2 separate regions of the Homo sapiens genome follow, and region 2 is linked to region 1. Evidence: promoter capture Hi-C in 16 types of primary human blood cells and fetal thymus (Javierre and others, 2016). All regions are on one chromosome and are shown on one strand. The core of a region is centred on a gene start or on the middle of the fragment in contact, and the rest is flanking DNA. Distances in the headings are between cores, read along the strand shown.

The links. Contacts are between HindIII fragments. The CHiCAGO score rates a contact against its expected background, and 5 or more counts as called.
Region 2: a contact is called between the fragment with the promoter of NSD2 here and a fragment that was not itself captured in region 1, in 1 of 17 cell types (naive B cells). The highest score is 5.0, in naive B cells.

Annotation. Positions count from the first base shown.
Region 1 is chr4:1,697,951-1,700,983 of GRCh38, reverse strand. It overlaps SLBP (stem-loop histone mRNA binding protein), which reads left to right. Exons shown (of 8, transcript NM_006527.4): 4 at 914-973; 5 at 1,283-1,420. Among named protein-coding and RNA genes, the nearest start is that of SLBP, 13 kb to the left of the region's middle. The HindIII fragment of the contact is 160 bases long and covers 1,693-1,852 here.
Region 2 is chr4:1,870,034-1,872,984 of GRCh38, reverse strand. NSD2 (nuclear receptor binding SET domain protein 2) reads right to left here and starts at 1,592. Exons shown (of 22, transcript NM_001042424.3): 1 at 1,443-1,592. RefSeq lists silencers at 1,159-1,858, 1,909-2,138, 2,169-2,428 and an enhancer at 2,162-2,663. The HindIII fragment of the contact is 4,701 bases long and covers 1-2,951 here.

The DNA.
Region 1 (3,033 bases), core at 523-3,022:
AATTACTTCATTACCTTCTGGCGTCCAAACTGCACTGAACACCTCAGCAAACTTGGGTGGATTTTAGATTTTGAGAGGAGGCACAGTAATACATGACATAATTTAGATACCTGCATGACAGGCCAGGGGTGGTGGCTCACTCCTGATCTCAGTACTTTTGAGAGGCTGAGGCGGGAGGATTGCTTGAGCTCAGGAGTTCAAGAGCAGCCTGGGCAACACAGACCTCCATGTCTCCAAAAAAAGAAAAAAATTTTTTTGGAGATGGTTGTGGCGGCACTTGCCTGGAGTCCTAGCTGCTTGGGAGGCTGAGGTGAGATGATTGCTTCAGCCCAGGAATATGAGGCTGTGGTAAGCCATGATCGTGCTACTGTACTCTAGCCTGGGTGACAGAGTGAGACCCCATCTCAAAAAAAAAAAGATACTCACATGAACTTGGAGCTCAAGGTAGCTCGTGGTTTCAACGTCAGATTGCGCTAGACTCCTTTTGGAGATGTCATACTTTTTTTTTTGCAAAACTGCGTTCTGGTAATGACTGCAATAGAAAGCAGATGCCTCAGGAAGTTCATGAGGAACAAGAGAAAAGGGGGCACGTTTGGTCTCCAGGATTGGAGAAGGTATGCAGTGCCCAGTAGGCATATGAGTCCCATTAGTAAGTTTGGTGTTTTTAAAATAATTTATTTCAATTTATGTTTTGTTTTTCTTTTTTTAAGGCTGCCAAGTTTTAGGGAATGTAAATTTTTGTTGTGTGGATCTCACTACTTAAACTGAACCTGACAAAGATTTCTTTTGGCCCACGGAGCTTCTGGATTGCATAGGATGGTGTGCCTGCGGGCATCAGGGTGGAGCTTCCTCAGACCTGGCTGCTTTATTTTTATATCTTTTTTAAAAACAGCAATATTTATTTTGCCCTCAGATATAAAAGGAAACTCCTCATCAATGACTTTGGAAGAGAGAGAAAATCATCATCAGGAAGGTAAAGGCTGTGTAAATGTTTCTTTTCTAATTTGATAGACCTGTAATTTGTTAAAAAAAAAAAATTGTGACTGTCAGAAATGCTGACTGTCGCAGTAGCATTTATTAATACCTTTTTCACTAATTTGAAATACTGTATCTGTTGTGTACTAAATTCCCATACATGCAGTCTCCGGACTATTTAGGATTCATATGGTTGGGAATCTGGAGTGAATCTTCCATTATTGTGTTTTGACATTTTCTTGGCTTACCTTACATACATGGTGATCTTAATTGCAGGGCTTATTCTGTTAATCTGTTGTTTTTTCAGTTCTGATTCAAAGGAGTCTATGTCTACTGTGCCGGCTGACTTTGAGACAGATGAAAGTGTCCTAATGAGGAGACAGAAGCAGATCAACTATGGGAAGAACACAATTGCCTACGATCGTTATATTAAAGAAGTCCCAAGGTAGTCTTGTTTCAGTGGCATGTCTTGAACAAGCTGTGTGGCATTGCGTTTCTAAAGAGTTGCTTAGATTGGGTAGTACAAATGATGCTGGGGATAGTTCACACCTGCTAAGAGCTATTTAATAGGGACTTACTGGGGCTTATGACGTAAATAAAGAATGGATTGGCAACTGGAAAACTAAAGACATGAAGATTTTAAAAATCATTTTCATATAATTTTGAATGTTAGATAACATTTTATTTCTTAGGAGTCAGCAATCATAGATGTAAGCTTATTAAAATACATGATGGGGAAAAATGAAGTTCAAGTTAAATATTGTAAAATTCTAATTGGAGAAAAAAAAATTGGCATTGCCCTATTGTCTTTAAGCAGCATGTTCTTGCCTATCCTGGTCCCTCAAACACACAGACACAGAAGGATATAAAGAAAGCTTTAGTGTTTTCCTGAACTTTTTGGCAGGATTGGGGTTGAAATTTACATTTCTGGGCCAGGTGCAATGGCTCATGCTTGTAATTCCAGCACTTTGGGAGGCCGAGAGGACTGCTTGAGGCCAGGAGACTAGCCTGGGCAATATAAGGAGACCTCATCTCTACAAAAAATTTAAAAATTAGCCAGGTGTGGTGGTTTGCACCTGTAGTCCCAGCTACTTGGGAGACAGGTGGGAGAACTGCTTCAGCCCAGGAATTCAACGTTACAGTGAACCATTAATCACACCACTGCACTCCAGCCTGGGCTGCAGAGTATGAGACTTTGTCTCTTAAAAAAAAAAATTTTACTTTTGGCTGAGTGCAGTGGCTCATGCCTGTAATCCCAGCACTTTGGGAGGCCGAGGAGTGCGGATCATGAGGTCAGGAGATCGAGACCACCCTGGCTAACACGGTGGAACCCCGTCTCTACTAAAAATACAAGAAATTTGCTGGGCGTGGTGGCACACATTTGTAGTCCCAGCTACTCGGGAGGCTGAGGCAGGAGAATCACTTGAACCTGGGAGGAGGAGGTTGCAGTGAGCCGAGATTGCACCACTGCACTCCAGCCTGGGTCACAGAGCAAGACTCCATCTCAAAAAAAACAATTTTTTTTTTTTTTTTTTACTTTTTTGGAACATAGCTGGCAAAGGAATAGTAAGATTCAATGTGATGGTGCTTTTTTTTTTCCCTCCTGACCGAGTCTTGCTGTTACCTAGGCTGAAGTGCAGTGTTATATCATGTCTCACTGTGTATTCATTTTTTTGAGACGGAATCTTGCTCTGTTGCCCAGGCTGGAGTGCAGTGGCGCAATTTCAACTCCACCTCTCGGGTTCAAGCGATTCTCCTGCCTCAGCCTCCACAGGCGCCTGCCACCACACTTGGTTAATTTTCGTATTTTCAGTAGAGATGGGGTTTTACCATATTGGCCAGGCTGGTCTCGCACTGCTGATCTCGTGATCCGTCTGTCTCTGCCTCCCACAGTGCTGGGATTACAGGGGTGAGCCACCACGCCCAACCATCATGGCTCACTGTAGTCTTAACTCCTGGCCTCAAGCAATCCTCCTACCTCAACCTCCTGAGTAGCTGGGACCAGCGGTGCATGCCGCCACACCTGGCTAAACTTTTAAATTTTTATAGAGATGGGAG
Region 2 (2,951 bases), core at 343-2,842, 170 kb before region 1:
GGCTGTGCTCACAGAACTTGTTTGCTTTATGTTGTTGGCGTTCTGCTCTTTAAAATATTGTTGTTCTCATCACATTTAAATACGTAACTAGGGCACTTAAAACATTTTGGGAAAATTAAAAAGTTTAAGTCCCAAGTTCATAAATGGGATGGCTCCTAAGTTATTTTCCACGTTGATATTTGAAATACACAAAATAGAGTGAATATAACCCATGCGTGATGCTGGCGTTTAACTCATTTAAAAATCAAGGCTTGAAAGTCTGTGAAGCAGGTGGGTAGCACTGAAGAGCTGCTCCTGAGCCAGGCCTGAACTTTATCCAATTAGTCTTGTCTTCACAGGGTCTGCGCGCTCTCTCTCTCTCTCTCTCTCTCTCTCTCTCTCTCTCTCTCTCTCACACACACACACACACACACACACACAAAATACACGTTATCTACCTAAAAACGATTAACGTCACCACATCAGTTTTGATACTATGTTTCCACTTGAATGTCAAAGCCCATCGTGGGCACAGAAAGATTCGTGCTGCAATGGGTCCTATACAATACCCTCATCCATTTTATTTCTACCGAAACTTAAGACCAGCATTTTTTAAACGCCGAGATTTTAAACCACGGTTCCTGTGAGTGGAGCAAAACCAGCCATTAAGTCGCCAGGTCCCATCTCATGCACTGAGGCTTCAAGGACTATCAATCTGCATCCTGGGGCGAGGGGAACATCCCAGGCGGAGGCCCGGACGCCGAGGGCGCGCAGCCCCCCAGCAGGGTACCCACACCCGGCTCACCCCCGCCTCCACCTGCCAAGGGCCGGACCGCGGCCCGGCTTCCCGGGGGAGCGTCCGCGCTGACCAACGCCCGGGCGCCGCGAGTGTCAACGCCAGACACCGCCTGCAAACAAAAAGCGACCCTCGGCCCGACCCCTGGCCCCGGCGCCGGCCCCGGGACCCCAACCTGCCCCTCCCACCGCGGCCGCCCCGGACCGGGGGCGCCGCACAAAGGCCGGCCCGACCCGCTCGGCGCCGCGGGAACAAAGGCGGCCGCCTCGGCCGGGCCGGGCACAGGTGCAGCCGCAGGGCCCGGCCGGGCCCAACATGGCCGCGCCCGCCCGCCCGGCCCCGTTAGCCGCCGCCGCCCGCAGGCCGCCGCCCCTCCCCTGCCCGGACTCGTCCCGGCCTCCGCGGTCCGCCCGGTCCTCCCGCCGGCCCTCAGGCCTCCGCGGTCCTCGCGGTCCCCACGACCCTCTCAGGCCGCCCGGCCTCCCGGTCCCCCAGCCCCTGAGCCGGCCCCTCAGGCCTCCTCAGTGCCCCCACTCCTCCCGGCGCTCCCGCCCCCTCAGGCCTCCGCGGTCCTCCCCGCCGCCCCTCAGGCCTCCCACAGCCCGGCCTCCCGGCCCCAGCCCCGGCGGTTGGCGGCCCGCGACTGTTGGGCGGGCGCCCCAGTGACCTGCGGTGCGTCGCATCCTCGGCGGGCGGCTCTCCGGAGCGGCAGGCTGGGAGGGGGCCGGGGCCGTGCGGCGGTAGGGCCCAGGCGGGGAGGGGGCGGCGGCGGCGGCGGGCGCAGCGCGGCCAGGCCGAGGCTCTCGCGCGCGGCGCCGACCCCGCCCCCGCGCCTCCCGCCCGCCGCCGCCGCCGCAGCCGGGGCCGCCGCCGCCTCGCAGAAGCCGCGGGAAAAGTGCGCGCCGCTGATTGGCTGCCGCGCTCGCGGGGCCCGCGGACCGGGCTTTTCAAATCCGCGCCGGGGCCGCGCACGGGCGGGGCGGGCAGGCACGCGGCGGGTGGGGGCCGCGCGGGCGGGCGGGGCTGGCAGCGCCGGGAGGGCCGGGCCGCGGGCCCCGCGAGCCGCCTCAGAGTAGCGCCGGGCGCGCGCCCTGCTCCCGCTACTCGGCGGCGCGCACCCGGCCCAGACCCGGCGCCCGCGGGCGCCGCGCTCAGTGACGTCACGATCCGCGCCCAATCACCGTCCGGAGCCGGCGCCCCCGAGCCGTGGGCGCGCGGCCGCGGAGGCTGGCGTTGGGCGCGCGGCCCGCCCGCGCGGGTCCCCAAGCTCCTGTCCCGTGAGAGGGGCGCGGGGCCTGGGGCCCGCGGGAGGCTGCTAGCGGCGTCCGCCTCGCGGAGCGGCAGTGCGGGGACGGGTGGGGAAACCGCCGCAGAGGCCCCGCCGTGGCGGGCCCGGAGCCTCAGAACAGACGTGGCGGAGAGGGTCAGACGCCACGACGGGGCAGGGCAGGGCGTCGTGCTCTTCCCGCCTAACGGCCGCAGGGCGTGAACGAGTCCCCCGGGCGAGGGTCCGACCCGGAGCTGGGCGCGGCTGCGGGAGGACCGCTCGCGAGGGGAGGACGCCTGGTCCAGGGGCGCTACCCCAGCGCCGCTGCGGTAGAGCCGGGCTTCAGGGGGTGGCGCGGGCGACTGCGTGCGGCACAGGGAGGAGGAGGAAGCGGCGCGGGCGAGCGGGGAAGTCAGACGCTGCAAAAAGTGGGCGGGCCGGGCGGTTGAAGCCGGTGTGATTTGCTGCCCGCCGCCCATGGAAGTTCGGCTCCTGCCTCCAGGTGCTGCCGGAGCCGGCGGCCTTGGGTTTTCTGTCACGCAGGTTCAGGGAGCCGGGAACACCTTCGGCCTTGAGCCTTAGTGTCTGCTCGAGCTTTACAGGCCCAGCTTGAGCCCTCGCTGAGAAGCGGGCCCAGGGGAGCCTGGCGAGAGTTTGGTCAAGGAGAGCTTTGTGAAAGTGCGCTACCCGGGCTATAGAACGACACCTCAGCCCAGGTCCTGCCTCCCCGGACCCACCTCCAGCCACCAAGGAGTGGCCACAGTTCACCTCCTCTTCCTCTCCCGCGCCGCCTCCGCTGCTGTCCCTTCACAGGTGCTGGGCCCCTGTATGGGTTGAGTTGTGGCCCCCCCAAAAAAACAAGGGTTGCTGCAAGACTTACTATAAGGCTACAGTAATTGAGACATTGTG